Linked DNA regions of Homo sapiens: regions 2, 3, 4, 5, 6 and 7 are each linked to region 1. The links are contacts of gene promoters, found by promoter capture Hi-C in blood cells and fetal thymus (Javierre and others, 2016). All regions are on one chromosome and are shown on one strand. The core of a region is centred on a gene start or on the middle of the fragment in contact, and the rest is flanking DNA. Distances in the headings are between cores, read along the strand shown. Region 1 holds the start of CRNKL1 (crooked neck pre-mRNA splicing factor 1). Region 2 has its middle 3.4 kb from the start of KAT14. Region 3 overlaps LOC124904876 (a long non-coding RNA gene). Region 4 overlaps POLR3F (RNA polymerase III subunit F). Region 5 has its middle 15 kb from the start of LINC01727. Region 6 overlaps DTD1 (D-aminoacyl-tRNA deacylase 1). Region 7 holds the start of LINC00652 (long intergenic non-protein coding RNA 652).

Region 1 (3,310 bases), core at 337-2,836:
CTTTTAGATGAGTATAATAATAAACTTTGAGGCCGTCTAGGTAAAATTCTGACCAGAGGTTTTGTTTTATCAAAATGTGTAGCACATCTTATTAACAGCATTACAACCTGCATTTACAGAATTCTTCAACTTATTTAATGCCCCGGTGTATAACTGGGTTTGGTTTTACATGGCACTTCAAGTCAAAGGCAATTTCAGTAAGTTCTCATCATTAGACTGTAAGCTTCTTGAGGTCTTAGAAGCTTACAGTCTAACGTAGCTTAGAGCTGTGCTGTCCAACACAGTAGCTATGAGTCACATGTGGTGAGTACAAATTGAGGTGGACTGTAAGTGTAAAATACACATTGGTTTTGAAGATGAAGTATAAAAAAGAATAAACTACCTCATTACATTTTTTATACCGATTACATGTTGAAATGATAATATTTTGGATACATTAGCTCAAATAAAATATATATTATCAAAATTAATTTCACTTTTTTGCTTTGTTTTTACTTTTTAATGTAGATATGAGAAAATTTAAAATTTCATATGTGGTGTGCATTATATTTCCATTGGACCAGTGATGCCCAATAAAAGTTTATGTAGCTGAATTATAAAAAATGTTACTTAATGCCACATGTGGAGTAATGATGATAATGGTGATAGCTCATATTTAATAAGCACTAAGTGCCAGACACAGTGTTACTTGCTCTATATGCATTACTCCTGCGAGTCAGACAAATAGTTATGTAAAGGTCCAGTTCAAGAGAGTCATCCGGGCTCAAGAAAGACTGGAGGGAGGGTATCTGTAAAGGCTTCAAAGTCTGCCACATATTAAGCACTTGGTAAGTATTAGCTATCAAAGGAAATACCAGATAGTAAGTCTACTGTTTAATTAACTTATGATACTATACTACTCCTACCGTCTACTCTCGCCCTCCGCTGTCAGCTGGGCTAACTCCTATTCAGCCTTCAAGTCTCAGCTTAAAGGTCATTTCCTCAGCAAAATTTACTTTCAGGACCCCTTCATACGACCCCCTTATTCACGCCCATGGCATATTCTACTTTGCCTCTCGGTAACATCTAGCAAGGTCGTCTTTATACAGAAACTCGTGTTTTGAGTACTGCTTGTGGCCAGCGTACGAGCGTAGCTTCCCAGCGCCCAGTGCAGTGCCTGGCTCAGTAAATCTTCACCGAACCACCCCACTCCACTCCCCAGCAAAACCACCCCAGAACGAAGGCCACGCCAACGCGGGTCGTGCTCCGCGATGACAAGAGCCCGCGCCCCACCACCAGCTGCCCTTCCTCTCCATCTCTCAGGGTGAGCCTTCTCCCCGGCGGGAACACTCTCTCCCAACCCGGGCACCCTCAGGGCTGAGGGATGCCCCTTTCCTAGGCCACCTCCTACAAGGCCCCTCGCGATCGCCTACCTTGGCCACTTTGGGAATCCGCTGCTTCCCGGCCGCGGTGGAGGCCGCCATGTCTGCAGCAGTCGACCTCTGGACACCTGTCCCCGGCACGGACGCTAGAAATCGGCTCTGAGAGCTCACCGAAACCACAAAGCTTTCAGAAAACAAACAGGATCTCGGAACCGGAAGCGGAACTTGCAGGACTGACCTTTGACCTCTCGCTTGAGCCGTGACGGAGGCGGCACCGTTTCCATGGTGACCAGGCTGCGCGTCCTCCTTGCGGCAGCGCGTGGAGTGCGGCGTCCTGGAGCTGCGGATGAGGTGGGTAACGCCGTGCTGACTAGCAGCGACGCAAGGACTGCGGTGCAGGGCGTCCAGGGCGCATCCCCAGGTCAGCCTCCGGAACTGGGATGACCAGGCGAGGACGAGTGGCTCTGTCGAGCCGTGGCGCCCTGCAAGGGAGTAAGAACGGAGCTCCAATCTGGATGCTCGAGGGCGGGGGAAGAAGGGAGAGCGAGGAAACTACCATTCCCAGCATGCGACGGGGCGAGCTGCCGCCCTTTTAGGCTGCAATGCCTCGAGCATTGCATTCTAGTAGTCTCTGGGTCCACGCCCCCTCGTTTCTGGTTTCGGGACAGTTGTGCCCAAATAATTCTAAGGTGCCCAAATAATTAACTCTAAGGCTTGGAATTAAAAATAACAGAAGGTACTTTGAAGCCAGATATTAGGAAAAAATATAAATAGAGTAACTGGAAAACAACTCAGTCTTGTGATAAGAAACATGTTTAAATTCTGTGTGTGCCTTAATTACTCTAGTTAAATTTTCTTAGCCTCAATGTCCTCAACTATAAAACAAGGCTAATAACATCTGTTTCACTAGGATTAAAGACAAATGCTCAGTAGATGTTAGCTGTTATAATACTTAACCTGCCCTCAAAAACTGAAAAGCAAAGGTTAAGAGAATTTTTTTTAATAGACATTTTTAGAGAAGTTTTAGGTTCACAACAAAATTAAGTGGAAGACACAGAGATTTCCTCCCTCCACAGCTTCCTGCTATCAATTATTGTACCTCTTCCCTCCTCTAACAGCCTCCAACTCTTAAAAATATCCTCCACCAGAGCAGTACATTTGTTACAATCTTGAACCTACATTGACACATCATTATCACCCAAAGTTCATAGTTTATATTAGGGTTCACTCTTGGTGTACATTCTATGAGGTTGGACAAATGTATAATGACATGACTTGGCAGCTCATTTGTTAGGATAATTTCCACAGTTGCAAAGCTCTTTTGGTGTTTGGGGAAAATATATATTTATGTATGTAGTAATATCACGTCTACCAATGCAGATATTACTTTCAACAAAAGATTTATGCAGATTTCTAGAACTGCAGTCAGTTATAACCAACATCAATGTATTTGCCATAACTCTTTATTAACCATATTATTTAGATATTTTATCTCACTTTTCAAAATTTAAATAGAGAAGATTTTATATCACTTTCATAAAGCCACCTAACAAAATAAATAAATATTAAAAAGATGTTTCTTTGAAGTGATTTTCCTTAAATGTGTTACTGTAAACAATTGATTTACCAAATGAATCATTGGTTTAATCATCTGTTGCCTTTGCTCAAAAGTACAAACATGCTAGAATACTTTGCTTCTGATCACCATCCTTCTCTCTTACATTTCTGTTGTCTGGCAATTCAGTTCATCTCTGTGTGTGTTTTTTTTGTTTGTTTTTTTTTTTTTTTTTTTTTAGGAAAAATGTATTATCCTTCTTACTTTTTGCCATCAATGCTTTTGTAGATATACCTTCATGTTTACCTTCTTATTTCCCAGCATTTAATCTTGTATTCCACTTCTTTCTGATTTTATTCTTCTCAGAATATACCATCTCCTAGTTCTTTCTACA
Region 2 (3,310 bases), core at 267-2,766, 1.9 Mb before region 1:
AACAATTCTGAAACTGCTATACATGTACACTGGAATCAAACAATTGCGCAAGTGGATGGTGGAAAATGGGAGCCTGAATTCTCACTGATGGAGTAGGAATTTACCAATAAAAAAAGGAGGTTAGAATAATCCATCTGGTAATGGACTAGAGTTGCAGACATCAGCAATATCTCACATTTTAGTCAATATAGATTCAGGTGATTACATATAGAAATATTTGCAGATATGTAACATACACAGATAAGTATACACACATATATTTATGTGCTTTGTCAGCTGAGAGGGCCCAAAAGAAACAAAGCCCCAGTAGCAATAAGCATGCCAGGACCTATATCTTGGATTCCAATATTATTCTACAATAAAAAGAACCTTGGATTCTTGGAGAAATGGCAGATTCTGAGACTTGGGCAGGAAATATACAAGATTAGCTCAGAATATTGTGCAGTGTCAGAAAATAGACAAGTGCTAAACAAGAAAAACACACATTGATGAGGGTCCGTCAGAGAAGCAGAGGAGCTGAAAGATCTCCCAACGGCCAAAGCGGGAGCCATCTGAGCAACAAAATAAAGTAATATTGGATTATAACCCAAAGTATAAAATAAATACCCACCAGTCCACACTGATAGAAACAAATGATTGAATCAGTTACTAAATGGGAGAGAAGAGACAAACCTGTGCAGAATTTCAGATTACTTATATAGATACTGCATTGAATTCATGGTGATTAATTCCAGTACCAGAAGAAAAACTGGCTGTTTTGGAGTTCCTGAGAAAATATCTATTTTCTTCAACATGTCACCTTCCTAAAATGTTTTCAAGGGTAGTTTTAACTGTTTTTGACTTTTTCCTTATGTGCTGACTTCAGAGCCTCAGCCTGAAGAAGGTGGGATTTCGTGGCCTTGTCTGCCTATAGAGCCCACTACAGGGCCATACACAAGGCAAGCCTTCTTGCTTGCATTTAAAATAGTCATAATGGTGCTTTATGCGGTGCCATGTGGTGTGATGTTTCTGTAATCATTTAGTGCTGAGACTGATAAATTTATCAGTCACTGGTGCCAGTTCAGCTGACACCCTCCACCTTCTTCCCAAACAAACCTCCTCCTTCCCACCTCCTCCTTCTCTCTCAGCCCCAATGATGACAAGCTTCTGATCATTGCCTGAAGCCTCTGCCTTGACCTATTGCATTCATGCCCACCATCAAGCCCAGTTTAAACCCGTGCCTCCTACTGATACCTCCTGCTAGGGTACTAGTGATTTACTATTCTTTAAGACAGAAGTGACCCGAAACCCAGCTCTCCCAGGATAGCTGCCAGGACCTGGCCATGATTCAAGCCCAAATAACATAAGCCAAATTACACACTCAGTGAGGAAGGCATTTTTTTCAAGTCCCCACCCTTGTGTGAGTGAAGGTGGAACAAAGATTGTGTGACCATGTTGTTCAAACACAGGAAAATGACTGCATTCCCTCCCCTTAGTTTTCATTTGTTGATTCTTCTCCAAGCCCTGACTTCCAACTGTACTTCTTTTTTGATGCTGCCTCTTGCTTAGAGGATTCTGAAGGGAAGGACAGGGTAGTATGCTGTTCTAAAGAGTATGGGACTTTATCCTGTAGGCATGGGGAGCCACTGAGCGGTTTTTAAGGTGGTCAGCTTCCTATTTTTGTCTTTGGAGGTAAGTTCACTCTGAAGGCCAGCCAATGGCAGGGCAAGGCACCCACTGTCCTCTCCAGGAAAGCAGTGGCCATTCTGGGCACACCTAAGTCAATCCAAAGCTGAGAGGGGCAGGAACTGATGTGATCTTAGGATGCCGAGACACTAGAATATAGCCAGATACACAAGGTTCAGATGTTCTGGCCTTACAAGCAAATTGTATTAAATCAGCCATGCTTCCTAAGCTTCGTCCCACCTTGGTAAACATAAAAAATAAGGATATCTGTACAACTCACTGGGATCAACTTGCGTGAGCTTGGATAATTCTAAAAGGAGCTTCATGGATAATAATTATTTACATTTCCTTTATATGGTACTCTTATAAAAAAGAAAAAGAAAAACAAAAAAATAAATGACATATAATTATGAGAAGAAAAATAAAAGCAAATCTTGGGGTAGATTTAAATATCAACTTTGGGTAAAATTTCCTGATAACATTCTTCTTGGAGTCTCTTTTAAATATCAAGTTTTGTGTTAAAAATAGTTCCTGATCATTGCTCCTGCACATAGTTCTTGATCAAGATTTTTTTTTTTTTTTTTTTTTTTTGAGATGGAGTCTCACTCTGTCACCCAGGCTGGAGTGCAGTGGTTTGATCTCGGCTCACTGCAACCTCCACCTCCCGGGCTCAAGTGATTCTCTTGCCTCAGTCTCCCAAGTAGCTGGGATTACAGGCACCCACCACCACACCTGGCTAATTTTTGTATTTTTAGTAGAGACGGGGTTTCATCATGTTGGCCAGGCTGGTCTCGAATCCCTGACCTCAAGTGATCCACCCTCCTTGGCCTCCCAAAGTGCTAGGATTAAAGGTGTGAGCCACCACGCCTGGCTGATCAAAATCTTTTTAAATGATCATCTCTTTAATTTTTGATAGTTACCATGGAGAAAAAACTTTTTTTTTTTTTTTTTTGAGTTGAAGTCTCACTCTGTCACCGAGGCTGGAGTGCAGTGGCTCACTGCAACCTCTGCCTCTCGGGTTCAAGCAATTCTCCTGCCTCAGCCTCCCAAGTAGCTGGGATTACAGGCATGCGCTGCCACATTTGGCGAATTTTTGTATTTTCAGTAGAGACGGGGTTTCACCATATTGGCCAGGCTGTTCTCGAACTCCTGACCTCAAGTGATCCACCTGCCTTGGCCTCCCAAAGTGCCTGGAATACAGGCATGAACCACCGTTCCCAGCCAAAAAGCTATTTGATACAAGAAGTGATGATAAAATGTAAAGCCATCGGCTATGAACCAATGGGAAAAAAAAGAAAAAAACACACAATAAAAAATCAAAAGGAAATAAAGACAATAAAAGAAACAAAAAAGAGCCATTTTTTTTCTGTTCGTATAGTTATGTAAGATTTTGTATAGAAGTGTATCATGCATGTATGTGTGACCACACAGCCTTGGTGTGCCACTGGACCAATTTTCACAAACACCCAGTACCAGCACCCAGTACTAGAGTTCTAGATCAGCCTAGCCAACATGGTGAAACCCCATCTCTACTAAAAATACAAAAATTAGTGCAGCCTGGTGGCTCAGGCCTGTAACCCCAACTACTCCAGAGGCTGAGATACAAGAATCGCTTGAATCTGGGAGGCAAAGGTTGCAGTGAGAT
Region 3 (3,310 bases), core at 229-2,728, 1.8 Mb before region 1:
TCTGAATCAGAATCTGCATCACAACAAGATCCCCAGAATACTGAAGTTTGAGAAGCTCTGGTCTACATTAGATGGTTTTCTAATGGCTCCCTGTTGCCACTGATAATAAAGCTCTCTTGTCTTTACCAGAGCTACAAGTCATCCCTGACTCTCTTCGTCTTCCTTATTGCCCTTAATTTCTTCATTCTTTAGGATCTGCCCTCAGTGCTACTGGTTTTATTGTCATTAAAAAATATTAACGCAATGCTCAGACTTCCTCAATTATGAATATGGTAAAAAAAATTAACTTATGGACAATCTATTCTAAAAATACTAAATATATGGACACGTGGATGCAGCACTGTAGTCCTCCTTATTCACAGTTCCACTTTCTGAGGTTTCAGTTACCCAGGGGCAACCACGGTCTGAAAATAGGCGAGTACAGTACGATAAGATATTTCGGGAGACCACATCCACGCAACTTTTGTTACAGTATATTGTTATAGTTGTTCTACTTTATTATTAGTTATGAATCTCTTACTGTGCCTAATTTATAAATTAAACCATATCTTCAGTTTTTTTGTATAGCAAAAAACATATGTACAGTATGTGGGATTTGGTACTATCCAAGGTTTCAGGCAACCAGTCTTGAATGTAACCCCCCATGGATGGCAGGGGAGGGGAACTACCATATTTAAATTTTTAAAAATTGATAAGGTTTCTTTTCTCAGCTGGTAGGTTTTGTGTTGTTATGATTTTATAAGCTCAGCCACATGCAAAATCGAGTCAAGACACCTTGGCCAGGCAGGTGAGGAAGCTTATGTAGCCCCAACCTTGCCTTCTGCCACTCTGCACCCCATATTCCCTTCTCCAAGCTCTCACAGCTCTCTGCACCTCTGAATAGCTCTGGTGACACTAGGATCAGTGATTTGCCTGTCCTTCTCTCACTGCTACCTGAATACTGTATTTTCTTTCATAAAATAGCATCCTACCTGAATGCCTAGTGCTGACTGGAAAATATGGAGGGAGTGTTGGCATTGGAAATTACAGCTTTGTAACTATTAGGGTAAAAACTAGTCTAGGCAAGAATCATTAATGGATGCACAGTCTTAAATTGTCTCCTCAGAGATGGTCTTAGAAACGAAAAAAATAGTAACTGTACAAGGCAGAAATCAGGCACTACCAAATGTGATATCCCTCACACAACCCCCAAATAAAACATTCAGCTACCAAAAAGGAGGACCCTGTTCTTAAAAGACAGAAAAACAAACCCTAAGAAAAATATTCCAGGTTAAAGGATACTAGAATCATGACAACTAAACCTAATCCTAGGCTGGATCCCATACTAGAACGCAAAAAAAAAAAAAAGTTATAAAACACATTATCAAGTCAATTGTCAAATTAGAATACCGATGATAGGTTATTAAAAGTACTGCATCAGTGTTACATGTACTGCACCTGCAACTTTGTTACGTTTGAAATTATTTTCAAATAAAAGGTTTAAAATTTACAAAAAAGTATTTCTTTCTAAATTAAAAAAATAACCATTTCAATATATAAAAATAAAAATATATTTAAATATAAAAATAAACTACCCAAAGGCATGTTTCTTTAAACAGGTAAATCACGCTATCAGTAAAAAAAAAAAAGTGCAATAGAGCAGCCGGGTGCGGTGGCTCACACCTGTAATCCCAGCACTTTGGGAGGCTGAGCTGGGTCAATCACCTGAGGTCAGGAGTTTGAGACCAGCCTGGCCAACATGGTGAAACTCTGTCTCTACTAAAAACACACAAAAAAATTAGCCAGGCATGGTGGTAGGTGCCTGTAATCCCAGCTACTCGGGAGGCTGAGGCAGGAGAATTGCTTGAACCTGGGTGGCAGAGGTTGCAGTGAGCCGAGATTGTGCCATTGCACTCCAGCCTGGTCAATAAGAGCAAAACTCTGTCTCAAACAAAACAAAACAAAACAAAAAAACAAAAAAAAAAACTGCAATAGAGCTTGTGAGAAGCTGCCAGGAACAAGGTGAAATGGAACATACATTGGAGGAGAATAAGGAAGCAGCAATAATGAATCCTGGCCAACAGGTACTGAGCCCCAAATCGCTTCACAAGTATTATCACAGTTTCACTGCTTTCCAATGTATTCATTTATGCCTTTGTGTTTCTTTTTGCTATATTTTTTCAAGCTTGGGTTGAAGACTTTGTTTCCTTACCTCTTAAATTTTTTATTTCAATGATAAAGTCATTAAATACAATGGATTTGCTATGATCAGAATTTTGGTTTTCATACATAGTATTCTTGTTTTGTTTCTAATGTAAAACAAAAACTACCAAGGCTTAAGAAAAGAAGTGAAAAGGTTGAGTTACTACACACACCACTGAAAAAGTTTCACAAGTTGTTCACTGAGGGGGAAATTTCAGTGTTTTTAAATGTTAGGAGGTAGAGTTTCATTGTGGCTGTGTTCATTATGGATTAAAAACTAGCACTCTGGATAGGTCAGAATGAATCCATAGTACTGTTACATAATTGGTTTAAAAGGTTCTATTTTTCAGAGGTCAGGAAAAATTATTGAGTTACAGCCAAGTAGTTTTGCCCTACTAGGGTCACTCAAAGTTTAGAGTTCTTAACAGATATAGCTGAGGGGAGATGGCATTGCTTTATTATTTTCTAAGCAGGTGCTGCTGTAAATGGAATCTTTTCCTTTTACTGTCTCTTCTTTTGCTCTTTTCTTTGCCTAAAATGATTGGATGACCACACAAATATTAGCCAAGTTATCAGGTTTCCAGTTCTACATCTCCATGTTGTTTTTTGTATCATTCTCACATGATTTGTTTCTATCAGAGTCACTTCAATTTCTTTTTGATACAGAATCATCTGTGGTTAGAACTGATGAGTTGGTAGCTCTGCCAAAGTATTAATACCCTGTTAACAACATACTTGACAGCAGCAACAATTAGGAACAAAGACAAAAATAGTATAACTAAAATTTGCAGCGACTCCTTAAACCAACTTCCTACTTGGCCAAACCAAGCAATAAAGAAAATCCAACAGCTGAATGTATCCTTTCTGGGACAACAAATCGGCCTGTTTTCTGAACTTTATTATTCAGAAGCAGGTATTCAAATACAATCAGAAGTGACAGCCAGCACACAAATGCCACCTTGTTTGGTCCATAAATATCCCAAGGCAATGCCTTTGTATAACATCTTTGCAGCAAATGATGTAAAGCTCTTCTGCTGAGTTTGTATAGTAGACGCAGATTACACATGCAGTAATTGCCATTGTAAGGGACAGGCTTCAAGTGTATCTTACTAAATTCAGGCACTCAGAA
Region 4 (3,310 bases), core at 346-2,845, 1.6 Mb before region 1:
TTATTTATTGTTTAGCATACTTTTGCTACTTTAGCCAGCATTCTTTACTGTTAGCTTTATACTGCTAGCTTTGGAATGAGACACAAGTTAGAGGAATAACATTAAAAATCCATGAAAACCAGAGTTCAACTTATTTTACTTTACTTTCTTATAGGAATATGGAGCAGAGATATCCGCTATAAAAGTAATTTGCCATTAACAGAAATCAACAAAATTCTGAAGAATCTGGAAAGTAAAAAGCTTATCAAAGCTGTTAAGTCTGTAGCAGTGAGTAGTCCTTTCCTCAGATACCCACTTACATATGTTGCTTCAAGTTTTTATTCTTGAAGTTATGTCATGATTTAGAACAGCTGGTCAAAAAAGACTTAAAAATTTAGCTCATGTTGGATTGGTTTGGAGATGCTGCTTAGACTTGTCCCTACACAGTTAGCTCTTGGTGTCTCACTCACCCACTCAAAAATCTAAAACTACTTTACTGTCTTCAGTGAAGAATCTTTGGAACTGTGAACATTTTTCCTAGATTTTGTGGTGTGTAAGATAATTTACTTTATCCCGACATATTAGCTTTCTCATTCAACAAAGAGTGTTTGCTGTGTGCCAGACACTGTTTTGAGTGCTTGGGATACATTAATGAACAAGTCGTAGAAAGATCCCTGCCTTGGTGGAGCTTCTCTTCTAGTACACGTGTGTTTTTCCTGCTCCTCATCCTGCCCCACCCCTGCTCCAGAGCTGGCTCCCTCGGGGACATCTGCCCCTGACCTCACTGATTTAGACATCAGAGGAACTGAGATTCCCCTAGAATAAAGTTTGCTTCAATACACATTTCATAAGAATTACAGCTATAATTCAAATTTTATAATTTCAGAGCTGTTAGGTCTGTGGCAGTGAGTAGACCTTTCCTCAAATATCCGCTTACATATGTTGCTTCAAGTTTTTATTTTTGAATAAAACAAGAATTATAAGAATTATAACATCACTTATAAGAATTTGATGCTTATTAGTGATTTTATTTATCAGAATAGCATTTCCCTTCCACATTGTTTAATGGATAATTTCAAATATATACAAAGGTAGAAAAAATCATATAATAAAACCCTATCATGTAGCCTCATTTTGTCAGTCCTCCTTCTACATCTTTATGTTTAATAACAGCTCTGCTGAAATATAATTCATCATTCATACTACAGAATTCATTCAACCTTTTAAAGTGTAAAATCTTTGGATTTACAGTCACTGGTTTTTACTATAAGCTAAGAGTTGTGCAACCATCACCGCTGTTCTAATTTTAGAACATTTTCATCACCCCCAAATGTGGCCACTAGTATTTGTTTCCCAGCCTCTCTTTCCATAGGCCCTAAAAACGAATAATTTATTTTCTGCCTTTATTATAGATTTGCCTATTCTGGACAGTTCCTATAAATGGAATAATAGAATATGTAGTCTTTTATGTATGACTACTTTGACTTAGCATGATGTTTTCAAGATTTATCCATATTGTGCTTTATTCCTTCTTATTGCCAATTAAAATTCCATTGTATAGATGTATATCACCTTTTGTTCATTCATCCGTTGGTGAACTTCTGTGTCCTTTTAAGGGTTAAAATAATCTTAGATCTCAGTGTAAAGTGCAAAACTATAAAACTTTTTGAAGAAAACATAGAAAATCTACATGACCTTGGCTTTGTTAATGAATTCTTGGACTATAACTCCAATAGTAGTCTATGAAAGAAAATGTTAATAAGTTGGAGTTTATCAAAATTTTTTGAAAACCTCTGCTTTGCAAGACACATTAAGAGAATGAAAAGACAAGTTACATACTAAAAGATATTTGCAAATCACATATTTGATAAAGGACTTGTCTCCAAAATATACAAAGAACTCCTAAAATTCAGCAATAAGAAAACAACACTTTGGGAGGCCAAGGCGGGTGGATCACCTGAGGTCAGGAGTTCAAGTCTAGCCTCACCAACATGGTGAAACCCTGTCTCTACTAAAAATACAAAATTATCCAGGCGTGGTGGCACATGTCTGTAATCCCAGCTACTTGGGAGGCTGAGGCAGGAGAATTGCTTGAACCCAGGAGGCAGAGGTTGCAGTGAGCAAGATTGCACCATTGTACTCCAGCCTGGGCAACAAAAGCGAAACTCCATCTCAAAAAAAGAAAAAAAAAAAAAAACACACAATGAAAACAAATAATCCAACTAAAAATGAGCAAAAGATCTGAACCTCACCAAAGAAGACATACAGATGGCAGATAAGCATATGAAAAGATGCTCTACATTATTTTTCATTAGAGAACTGCAAATTAAAATAAAATTTAGTATAGTGAGATACCACTACACACCTATTAGAATAGCTAAAATCTAAAAATTGGTAATACCATATGCTGACAAGATACAGACCAAGATGAACACTCATACATTGCTAAGAATGCAAAATTTTCAGTCCTTTTGTTAAAAAACTGGGCAGTTTTTACAAAACTAAACAGAGTCTTACCACATTGTCCAAAGGTCAAGCTCTTAAGTATTTACCCAACTGATTTGAAAACTCATGTCCACATAACTACATGAATATTTATAGCAGCTTTATTCGTAATCAGCAGCTTTATTCATAATCAAAAACTGGAAGCAACCAAGGTATCCTTCAATAGGTGAATGGATAGACAAACCAGAATAGTATTCAGTTATAAAAAGAAATAAGCTATCATGAAAAGATATGAGTAAATCTTAAATGCATATTGCTAAGTAAAAGAAGCCAGTCCGAAAAGGCTACATACTGTATGATTACAACTATATGACATACTGGAAAAGGCAAAACTAGACAGACTAAAAAGATCGGGGTGAGGGCAGGGATGGTAGGGAAAGTTGAATAGGTGAAGCATGAGAAATATTTCTAGGGTGGTGAAATTATTTTGTATGACAGAAGCATTAACCAAATTTGGAAGCCCACCCAAGCTTTGCTGTCCAAAGTTTTTATTAGGGTTTCATTATACAGGCATGATTGATTGAATCCTTGGTCATGTGAGTGAATTCAATCTCCAGCTCCTCTCTTCTCCCAAGAGATTGGACTGATGTCATGTGGCCCAAAGCCCCAACCCTCTAATCATGCGGTTGGTCTTTCCAGCATGGACAACTCCTATCCTGAAACTATTTAGAGTCCTATCAGGAGTCACCTTGTTAGCATAAACCCAGGTGTGATCTAAGGGATTCACCATGAATAACAAGGCCTATTGGGAAATTCCAAAGATGTAGAAGTTATTTCCTAGGAAAAAGGGACAAAGTCTAGCCAAATTTTTTTCTTTTTTTTTTTT
Region 5 (3,310 bases), core at 311-2,810, 1.5 Mb after region 1:
ATGCTGGGGACCCAGCCTAAGATGAACCCACCTGGGAAAACCTCATGGAACTGAGCTGCAGAGCCTTCCTCACGGTCCTCCCCCTCCATCCCTCTCAGGTCCCCAAAGGAGACCAGGAGGCCTCTCCTGATTCATCTGAGGAGGGTTTGGTGGGCTGGGAAGTGTCCTTCCACTTACTTGGAGCTTTTCGGCAGCCAAATCTCTATCTTTCTCCGTATAATAGGTTCTCTCCCTGTTTTTGCAGGGAGTTGGTGGTGGGATTTGTGACAGTATGGAAATAGTAAAGACAGGCCCAAAGGGTAACCATACAGGAAAATATCTATTACCAGGTGAAAATTCCCCTTTTAAAAAAATGTGGGCTGGGCACAGTGGCTCACACCTGTAATCCCAGCACTTTGAGAGACTGAGGTGGAAGGATTGCTTGAGCTCAGGAGTTCAAGACTAGCCTGGGCAACATAGTGAGACCTCATCTCTATAAAAAAAAATACAAGAAATTGGCTGGGCATGGCGGCATGCACCTGTCCCACCTACTCAGGAGGCTGAGGTGGGAGGATTGCTTGAGCCCAGGAGCTGTGATTGTACCACTGCATTCTAGCCTGGGTAATCCTGTCTCCAAAAAAAAAAAATGTGTAGAGTTTGAACAGTTCACTTTTTTTTTTTTTTTTTTGAAATGGAGTCTCACTCTGTCACTCGGGCTGGAGTGCAGTGGTGCAATCTTGGCTCACTGCAACCTCTGTCTCCTGGGGTCAAGCAATTCTCCAGCCTCAGCCTCCCGAGTAGCTGAGATTACCGGCACCCACCACCACACCCAGCTAATTTTTGTATTTTTAGTAGAGACAGGGTTTCACCACGTTGGTCAGGCTGATCTAGAACTCCTGACCTCAGGAGATCCACCTGAGGGATTATAGGCTTGAGCCACCAAGCCCGTCCGCACACATTTTTTTAAAGAAAGAAATTTATGCACACCTTTTTGGAAAAGCAGGCAACTGAGATGGAATGGTCATTCTAGTCCTGTAGAGGATTTAAAAATATGAGAGCACTTTTGCCTTCTCCTACTCTCATGAAGCTGAAATCGTTTATTTATATAACTCCCACCTTTGGCGTGAACTTCAAATTAGACATAGTGTTATCAATTAATGTAAGAGAAACCCATCCAGAGAGGGGAGTGAGGCAGCTATAAAACCAGGTGGAATTGAATGCTTATAAAAGAGGTTCGACAATGTGATCTTCATGTCCTGGACTCCTGGGAGATTTTCCTTGAACTGGTTCACGTAGTCAAAAGCCTTACATTCTTTTCTGAAGGACAGTTGAGATCATTTTAATCATAATGGAGACTATATGCCGTGAAAGTCTTTAAAAGAATGAGAGGGAGAGTTTGCACGGTGAAGGATATAGAGCAGGCTGGCTTTGAGCTTACATTAGCATGCACCACCTCTTGTCTGGAAGCACCGCGTACCCTCACTAAGACTCATGATAACTACGAAAAGTGAAGCGAGGCTGGAAGAGAGGCCACGGATGTTAAGCATGTTAACATTTCCATTACATCTAAAAGCAGAAAATGGAACAAATAAAGCAGGTTGGGTTTTCTTCCCCCAGTATAATATATGCCAGAATGTCACAAGAACTCATTGTCTGCAGTGAATACAAAAATATGGGCAATTCAGGCTGAACAATGGAAACGTTGGTGATTCCATAAAAGCATCCCATTCGCATTAAGTTCATCTGGCTTTGTTTTATCCCTATTTTTTCCCCCAATAAAGCTGTGTCTTGAATAATATGATCTTTAAAGTTTAAGCTGCATATAGAAGTGCTTCTTCTTTTCCTCTCCACTTTCTCTGGTTCTGAAATGCAAGAAATGCAGAATAAAAGACAATTGAACCATCGTATTTGTTTTTTCTGCCCCTTCTCTCCAGTTAAATGCTGTTGTGATTTTGATGTAAACATCCTAGTAATTTTCACAGGAAGTGGGTGCAGGGATCCTAGCAGTGTGTCTGTTCAATGGTACTGTTAGGCGTCTTTTTGTTCAAAGGAGGACTTGTTCCAACGCCCTGGCACTGATCCAGTGCAGGCAGCCCGGGGACTTGGTGGGCCACCAGGGCAGGTGGTCCAGGAGCTGGACTGTGCACTTAGAGGGGAGGCTGGGTGGTCTTTTCTTTCTACTCGGGATCTCCTGCTCTTAGAAGACCGGCCTTTTGGGATTGAGTCTTTGAGGACTCAGAAGTGATTTTGACCTTGAGCTGACATTTTCAGAGTGAACGAGCTTGCTGAAAGGATGGCAATGTGCAATGTTTGGCTCTCCCCATGATTACAGAGTTGAGTTTAAGAGACAGAGGGAGTAAAAGAAGATGACATTTGAGTTTTTGTGAGTCTTCATCTTATTCCTTTCTGCCTCTCGTTGGAACTGACTGCCAATTCAGAACAAAACAAATTGTGAAAACTCCCCTCCTGTGTCACTCACCCCTGGCCCTCGGGGCCCAGAGTTGGAACAAATTAGGATGGCTTTTGACATTAGGCACAGGACATAAAGCCACAAAAAGTTTGTCTATCCACAAAGAAGCAGAACCTTTGGGTAGACCCATACACCCATACATATATCTACACAAAACACTGTGTTTTCAACCCAACAAGAAAATCATATTTCTCAGTTCTGTTTGACTTCCTCAGCCTTGTTTTCTTATCCCTGTTTCCTTCCTTCCTCCCTCCCTCCCTCCCTCCCTCCCTTCCTTCCTTCCTTCCTTCCTTCCTTCCTTCCTTCCTGCCTTCCTTCTCTTTGCTGATCCTTCTGAGTCTTGAGCCAGGATACAGGGCAACACTCAAGACTGTCCTCATGCCCTTTCCTTTCCCCTGTGATGACGACTCCCAGACGTGTTTCTCAGGCCTGCAGCTTGAGTGCACATGATGAGCTGAAGGCTGGAAAAGTTGAGAGGCCAAATCAGTTCAGAAAATTTATTAATTTAAATTTTTTAATTTAAAAAAGGATTTCATATTTTACCCAAACAGAAATGATCGATACCCATGTACCCGCCAGCTTAATCTGACTGATGTTAATATTTCCCCTGTCTTATCTTCGGATCTCTCTCTCTCTCTCTCTCTCACACACACACACACAGACACACACACTCACACACAAAGTTTTTACTATTTTACTGCTTGTGCTCCTAAACTTTAGCTTGTGTTAGAATCCCCTGGAGAATGTGTGAAAAGGAAGGTTCTGAGTTCCAAGTCCAGGAAATTGGATTCAACAGGATGGTGGTGGTAGGGAGGTGACCCACATCTACTCTTTCTCCTGGTGGATTGTAAACCTTCAACG
Region 6 (3,310 bases), core at 519-3,018, 1.5 Mb before region 1:
GGGAAAATTCATAGATGAAAGATGTTTTGCATTATTGAGAAGAACCTTGCAGTCTGCTGCTGTGTGTGGTCGTCACTGACAGATTTAAATTTTGATCTCTCTCCTGAACTCTCCATCCTGCTAATCTGGAATATTGAAAATGTGTATTCTGTGAGATGTGCTGAATAAGAGTTTGGGTTATTTTGGTTCACTATTTAAGTTATATGCTTTCAGTTAAAACAACCAAACCTGCATATTAAAAAAGATAAGGGTGTTAATTATGGGAAAGTGTAAATAATTCGGGAATTCTGGGTTGGGGAACTGTGGAATTCTGTTAGAAGGGCCCTCCACTTATGCAGGCCTTCTAGTTGCATTGTAATGGAAAGGGATTTTCTGATTCCTTTAAAATGTGGCTGGTTTCACTGAAATGTGGCTGTGTTTGAATGGCATTTTATTTTAGGGGTTCTAAAATGTTAACTTCCTGTTTTATGGTCAGGACAGCATAGATTATCAGGAGTCACACATTTTATTTTATTTTAAAATAGTTGGTTGACTTCACATTTATTTTAAATTTATGCATTTATGGTTTGTTTGTTTTAGAGATGGGGTCTTGCTCTGTCACCCAGGCTGGAGTGCAGTGGCACTATTATAGCTTACTACAACCTCAAACGCTTGGGCTCAAGTGATCCTTTAGTTTCAGCATCCTGAGTAGTTAGACTACAGGCGTGTGCCGCCACCGCTATGTCCAGCTTAGGAGTCACACATTTTACTATGTGGTATATTCAATTTATGTGATTGGTCAAACACATTTTTTTTTATAGTAACCCTGTAATATCATTTGATGCCCAGTCCATCAGATTTCTCCAATTGGCTAATTGGTTTTGTTTTTGTTTTGAGAGAGTCTTGCTCTGTTGCCGAGGCTGGAGTACAGTGGTGCCATCTCTGATCACTGCAGCCTCTGCCTCCTGGGTTCAAGCGATTCTCATGCCTCTGTGTCCTGAGTAGCTGGTCTTACAGGTGCGCGCCACTGTGCCTGGCTAATTTTTTTGTATTTTTAGTGGAGACAGGGTTTTGCCATGTTGACTAGGCTGGTCTCAAATTCCTGGCCTCAAGTGATTTGCCTGCCTCGGCTTCCCAAAGTGCTGGGATTACAGGCATGAGCCACTGCACCCAGCTTGATCAAACACATTTTGATGCCTTAGGTTGGGTACTGTGATAATCTAATTTTTAAAAGTTTATTATGGCACATTTCAAACATATTAACAGACGGAATAGGGCAATAACCCCCATGTCCCATCATTCATTGTCAGCAGCTAAAATTTGATGTCTGTGAACAGTGTTGGAAGAGGATCTAAAATGTTTGGGTTTAACTAGGTTAACTTCAAAGGTTATGAATTCTTGAAGTAGAGATCTCAGGTCTGATGCCACTAGTAGGTAGAAAAATTGACCAAACATCTCAGTCTTTTCCAGCCCTTTGATCTTTTGTTCAAAGTGGTGATTCTCAGATTTTTTCCCTTGGTGATCCATTTACTTATAATAAAAAATCCTTTTGAATCTCCTAGTCCTTCTACTTGTCCCTGGAGGGGGGACAAAACTGCTCCAAAATAAGACAGCAGTCTCTGTGTCATATATAGACTTTGGGCCATAATTTGTTTCATGTTAAGATAATTATAAAACTGTCAAAATTCTTTGACAGTGATTCTAGAATCTAAGCAGATAATCCTAACTGTAGAAAAGGCTTTAGTGTACGAAGATTTTCACTACACTGTTATTTACTGAGGTGAAAATTTTGAAAGAAGCCATATGTCCAGCAAGATGGAATGGTTAATCAGTCTACTTGATGAGCTGAATCTATTAAAAGGTGTTTAGGAAAAGGTTATGACATGAAAAAATTCTTATGCAATATTATTATAAAAATTTATATGCAATGTTATTATAGTAGTTGAAAACAAATATGAATTAAAATGTATGAATAGATACAATATTAAAAGGAAATCATTAAAATATTAAAGTACTTACCTTTGTTCTTTTTTTCATGTTTCTCATATTTTCTAAAATATATAATCCTTACTTTGATGATAGATATAACTTCATGACCTTTATTTTTTAAAACATACTTTGGGAAAAATTTAGAAAGTATATCAATATTGTAAGAAAGTAATGTTGATTTATTCAAAGAACAAATAAAGCCAAAGGCTTTTTCTGAAGCAATGCAAATGAGCAAACCAACCCCCAATTGTTTACTGCCTATGTCAGGATAGATTATTTCTATTTCAGCTTTTGAGGCAGTGGCTCAAAGGACAATAAGTCACACACACATAGTTCATTATAAGAAAAGCAGCACAGAAGAAAAGATTTAAAAAATTTTAGCCTAAAAATAAAGAAATTAAGCATTACTGATATTTCAGGAATGGATTGATGTGCTCTGCTGGGATCTGAATAGCAGGTGGTCTCTTGCCATTGCAACTGAAGAAAGAGGGAAGTTTCTCACCCTTTCTTTAGCAGTGTATTGTAACATGACATAGTCTATGTTACTGTGTTAGTTATATTTATAGCTATTACCCTGCAGAAGCAAGCAAACAGCAAGAAAATGGCTGAGGTGACCCTTCTATTCCGATTAGCACATTAGGTCAGTACAAGATGAAGTAGTAAAATAACATAATCTAATAAGATTGGCAAATAATTGGCAAAAAATAGAAAATTTTCAAAAGCACCACTTGAAATACAGATTTAGCTGGGTATGATGGCGTGCATCCATAGTCCCAGCTACTCTGGAAGCTGAGGCAGGGAGGATTGCTTGAGCCCAGGGGTTCTGGGCTATAGTACACTATGCTGACCTGCTGTCATACCAAAGTTCTGCATCAATATGGTGAGTTCCCAGGACCAGAGGACCATCAGGAGGGATGGACCAACCTAGGTTGGACATAGAGCAGGTCAGAACTCCTGTGCTGATTAGTAGTGGAATTGCACCTGTGAATAGTCACTGCACTCCAGCTTGGACAACATAGAGAGATCCTGCCTCTTAAAAAGAAAAACAAATGAAAAAAAAAACAGGGATTCTCCATCATAAAGATGCATCTTTTTTTTTTTTTTTTGAGATGGAGAGTCACTCTTGTCACCCAGGCTGGAAGGCTGGAGTGCAATGGTGTGATCTTGGATCACTGCAATCTCCACCTTCTGGGTTCAAGCGATTCTCCTGCCTCAGCCTCCTGAGTAGCTGGGATTACAGGCGCCCGCCACCATGCCCGGCTAATTTTTGTATTTTTATTAGAGATGGGATTTCGCCATGTTGGCCAAGCTGGTCTCGAACTCCTGACGTCATATGACTGCC
Region 7 (3,310 bases), core at 485-2,984, 1.3 Mb before region 1:
AGTGGCCTGATCTCAGCTCACTGCAAGCTCCGCCTCCCAGGTTCACGCCATTCTCCTGCCTCAGCCTCCCAAGTAGCTGGGACCACAGGTGCCCGCCACCGTGCCCAGCTAATTTTTTGTATTTTTTCTTTTTTTTTAGTAGAGACGGGGTTTCACCGTGTTAGCCAGGATGGTCTCGTTCTCCTGACCTCCTGATCCGCCCACCTTGGCCTTCCAAAGTGCTGGGATTACAGGCATGAGCCACTGTGCCCGGCCACTTTTCTCTCTTTTTTTGTATCCTTTTCCCATGACTTCTTTACTATCTCTTCCCCAATCAGTATTTCGGTATCTATCTATGACTATCTATCTATGACATCCATCTGTCTATGACTCAGACCTGGGCTGAACTATATACTCGCCACATAGATTCTGCAATTAATATTCTGCTGTATTTGTTTTATGTATATGTCTACCTACGCTTGTATACATCCATCAATCCATCTTATTTTTTGATGCTTTTCAAATAAGTGGCAGACATCAGTGCTCTTCACCCCTATGGTGAATTTTGACAAATGCATACACTCATTATCCCTGAAGGTGTCCTTAGGCCCCTTTCCAGTTAAGTCTACCCCCAACTCCCAAGGTGAACTCTATTCTGATTTTTTTCCCACCATAGATTAGTTTTGCCTGTTTTAGAACTTCATATAAATGAAATTGTACATGGTGTAATCTTTTGTGTCCAGCTTCTTTCATTAGCAAAATATTTTCAAGTACCTGTGTTGTTATAAGGGTCCTCATTTTAAAACGAATAATTTGACAAGATCTTTGCAAACTGATCTTTACTTTAAAATTTTGGACTTCTCTGATGTGTATGTAAATACAGTAACCACCTTTAAATTAAATAGCCTAAATACAGTAACCACTTGAACTAAGCCTCTGAAACAGACATCTCTCCCATGTGTCTGTCAGACCTTGTCTTTCTGTTTTCATGCTCCCCACATCCCCCTACCTTGTTTAGCATTGATAAACATTTCAAAACTGCAGAGGGAATTTATCATATTTGTCTCAAGGGCACAGCGCTTTTGATTTACTGTGTTCAGTAAGATGCAGGGGGCTAACCAACCTCTTAGGATTAACTGCATTTGACTTACCTTCAAAAGGTCATCAGCAGTACATCCTTAGTAGGCCTCACAATAGTGTGTCCACAATACGGGTTAGTGGGAGTGATTGAAAGGCTTGGAGAGTTGTCCTTCTGGGTTTGCTCTGGTTGGGCGATCAGAGTCCATAGCACTGGGTGGGAAAACATGAAAGAAAATAAGTGAAAGTGACATGTTCCTCCAGAATAGCTAAAGGTCAGCGCTCACCCCATTCAACCACTGTATTCCCTAGACTTAGCATGAGGCGGTTTCTAAAAATCAAAGCCACACTTAGCGTGGTAATGTGGCTTTGTACCATGTCAACCTAGCTAAGCGGGAACTACGTTTCCCAGAATTCCTTGCCTGTAGGTTTCCGGGGTTAGCACACGCCACGTGACCTGATGCGGGCTTCGTGAGGCGGAAGTGACGCAGTGTTGTCGTCTCGTAGGCTTGAAAGGTAGGTGCCCGACATTAGGGACTGTCGCAGCCCGGGGAATTGTCCCCATCTGCTGGCTTACCTTGTGGGCGTGGATCCCCTCTAACTTTCCTAATTCCCGGGCGGCCCGCGGGCCTGCGGCAGATTCAGCTCTCAGGACTCCACTTTCAGTTTCTTCCACTTCTGGGGCAGGCTGCTTGTCCTGCCACTCTCAGGCCCCCCACCAGACACGGCAGCAACAGCTGTTCCTAAGTGTTCAACTCGCTCCTTCCCGCAAATGTAGAAGCTCAAATCCCTATAGCAAATTCCATATTCTATGTCATTCTTAATGCTTCCGTCTCTCTGGTTGAATCTAGATTGGATACAATCAGTGATGCACATTTACCAGACAGAGGATGTGCAGCGTTTACTGTTGATTTCTCTCTTTTCCTCCCTATCACCTCAGTTTAGTTCCAGGATCCACACTCCTCCACCATAGTCAGGAGATTCAGGGAAAGTTGGCAGGGTTCAGCTTTCAAGTTGACCCTTGATGAACCATGGTCAATCCTGTTAAGAGGCGTGAAAGCCAATCCCAGCCAATGAGACTGGGGAGAAATCACTGAAGAACTTGTGGAAAACAGACCCTCTGGATAAAAGACACGTGTGGGGAAAAAGGGGCTTTTTAATGTTATTCTGGATGTTTCCCAAAAGTACTGCTGCTGCCTTGCCTCCCTGACAGACACTGGCCTTAGGATGACATGCGGCAGGAAGGAAGGACGGATCTGGGGTTTTTCAAGACTCACTGAGATGCACAAGGAACCAACCCTCAAGTAGCCAACTCGTTCCTGTTTGCATGTGTCGACTGAAAAGAATCAAAATAAACAAAATATAACTATTTCTAAGAGGTTACAACTTGCAGGCAGGAAGCAGGCCTCTACCTGAGGCCATAAAGCATACTTTGAAGGAGAAAAGGTAGGTATTTATGCTAGGTGGAGAGGTAGGATATACGTATTCTGTAGCATACAGGAGAAGCCTATGAAAATTCATGGAGGAAACTCGTTAGAGACACGCACTGGGCTTACATATGAAGAATATCCAAAAGCGGATGACCTGTGTTCACTCTGGGGTGAAGATTTAACATTTAAATGTATTATAATTAGGCTGTAAATGCAAAAAGGTGAAACATAGGGCACAAGTTCACGATCTGTGCAATCTCCAGAGACCAGTCTGATCTAGCCTGCAGCTGGCAGTCATCTGTCAAGAAGGGGCTCTTTGTAGCCCAGAGTAGCTGTCAGGTTGGAACCATAAAACCAAAAGGAGGGCATCGGCGGTTAGGTGAAGAAAAGAAGTCTTTTGGCCTTTTTTCCTCTTCAAGTCAGCTTTTGATAAGATCTAGTAATAATAAGGGGATGGGTGTGGCTGCAGGTGGGACATGTCGGTTCTCTGTCCTGTCACAGCTAAGAACTAAGAACTTTAGAGTCTTTCAGCCATAGAGGGTCCTGTCATCCATTGAAGGGATCAGTCCATTGGGATTTTGCCAGTTTTAGCATTGATGCTGTGTCCTGGGAAACCCCTGAATACTTATCATAGCAGAAGTTCAGCCACTGTAGCCCTACCTCAGGACCGCTTTTATGGGAAAGAATAATTCCTTTAACTGCTTGAGCCATTTGAGTTGTGGCTGCTTTTGGTACTTGTAATAAATTGAAAGCATCTTGAATGTTCTGGGACAGTAAAAGAATGTGCCTTTGTTTCTGACAGCAATTATAAAATCAATTATATG

What was found. The method cuts DNA at HindIII sites, captures the fragments that hold promoters and counts their contacts. A CHiCAGO score of 5 or more calls a contact.
Region 2: a fragment that was not itself captured here is called in contact with the fragment with the promoter of CRNKL1 in region 1 in 3 of 17 cell types (naive CD4 T cells, non-activated CD4 T cells and activated CD4 T cells); the score reaches 9.2 in naive CD4 T cells.
Region 3: a contact is called between a fragment that was not itself captured here and the fragment with the promoter of CRNKL1 in region 1, in 1 of 17 cell types (naive CD4 T cells). The highest score is 5.4, in naive CD4 T cells.
Region 4: a contact is called between a fragment that was not itself captured here and the fragment with the promoter of CRNKL1 in region 1, in 1 of 17 cell types (naive CD4 T cells). The highest score is 6.3, in naive CD4 T cells.
Region 5: a fragment that was not itself captured here is called in contact with the fragment with the promoter of CRNKL1 in region 1 in 1 of 17 cell types (total CD4 T cells); the score reaches 5.6 in total CD4 T cells.
Region 6: a contact is called between a fragment that was not itself captured here and the fragment with the promoter of CRNKL1 in region 1, in 1 of 17 cell types (total CD4 T cells). The highest score is 6.3, in total CD4 T cells.
Region 7: a contact is called between a fragment that was not itself captured here and the fragment with the promoter of CRNKL1 in region 1, in 1 of 17 cell types (total CD4 T cells). The highest score is 5.2, in total CD4 T cells.

Annotation. Positions count from the first base shown.
Region 1 is chr20:20,050,880-20,054,189 of GRCh38, forward strand. CRNKL1 (crooked neck pre-mRNA splicing factor 1) reads right to left here and starts at 1,587. Exons shown (of 14, transcript NM_001278628.2): 1 at 1,413-1,587. The coding sequence starts at 1,463. CFAP61 (cilia and flagella associated protein 61) reads left to right here and starts at 1,653. Exons shown (of 27, transcript NM_015585.4): 1 at 1,653-1,712. RefSeq lists enhancers at 1,442-1,611, 1,622-1,921 and a silencer at 2,012-2,061. The HindIII fragment of the contact is 2,238 bases long and covers 1,544-3,310 here.
Region 2 is chr20:18,132,803-18,136,112 of GRCh38, forward strand. No RefSeq gene overlaps it. Among named protein-coding and RNA genes, the nearest start is that of KAT14, 3.4 kb to the right of the region's middle. The HindIII fragment of the contact is 751 bases long and covers 1,142-1,892 here.
Region 3 is chr20:18,279,942-18,283,251 of GRCh38, forward strand. LOC124904876 (a long non-coding RNA gene) reads left to right here. Exons shown (of 3, transcript XR_007067544.1): 3 at 1-130. Among named protein-coding and RNA genes, the nearest start is that of ZNF133, 6.9 kb to the right of the region's middle. The HindIII fragment of the contact is 1,368 bases long and covers 795-2,162 here.
Region 4 is chr20:18,474,921-18,478,230 of GRCh38, forward strand. It overlaps POLR3F (RNA polymerase III subunit F), which reads left to right. Exons shown (of 9, transcript NM_006466.4): 5 at 155-267. Among named protein-coding and RNA genes, the nearest start is that of MIR3192, 6.0 kb to the left of the region's middle. The HindIII fragment of the contact is 2,714 bases long and covers 239-2,952 here.
Region 5 is chr20:21,553,108-21,556,417 of GRCh38, forward strand. No RefSeq gene overlaps it. Among named protein-coding and RNA genes, the nearest start is that of LINC01727, 15 kb to the right of the region's middle. The HindIII fragment of the contact is 4,582 bases long and covers 1-3,310 here.
Region 6 is chr20:18,589,618-18,592,927 of GRCh38, forward strand. The region is part of intron 1 of DTD1 (D-aminoacyl-tRNA deacylase 1); the gene reads left to right. It also overlaps the pseudogene RN7SL638P. Among named protein-coding and RNA genes, the nearest start is that of DTD1, 3.2 kb to the left of the region's middle. The HindIII fragment of the contact is 3,622 bases long and covers 1-3,310 here.
Region 7 is chr20:18,792,535-18,795,844 of GRCh38, forward strand. It overlaps LINC00652 (long intergenic non-protein coding RNA 652), which reads right to left and starts at 2,050. Exons shown (of 4, transcript NR_026883.1): 1 at 1,634-2,050; 2 at 1,131-1,269. LCDR (lysosome cell death regulator) reads left to right here and starts at 1,515. Exons shown (of 1, transcript NR_026885.1): 1 at 1,515-3,310. RefSeq lists an enhancer at 1,191-1,730. The HindIII fragment of the contact is 9,609 bases long and covers 1-3,310 here.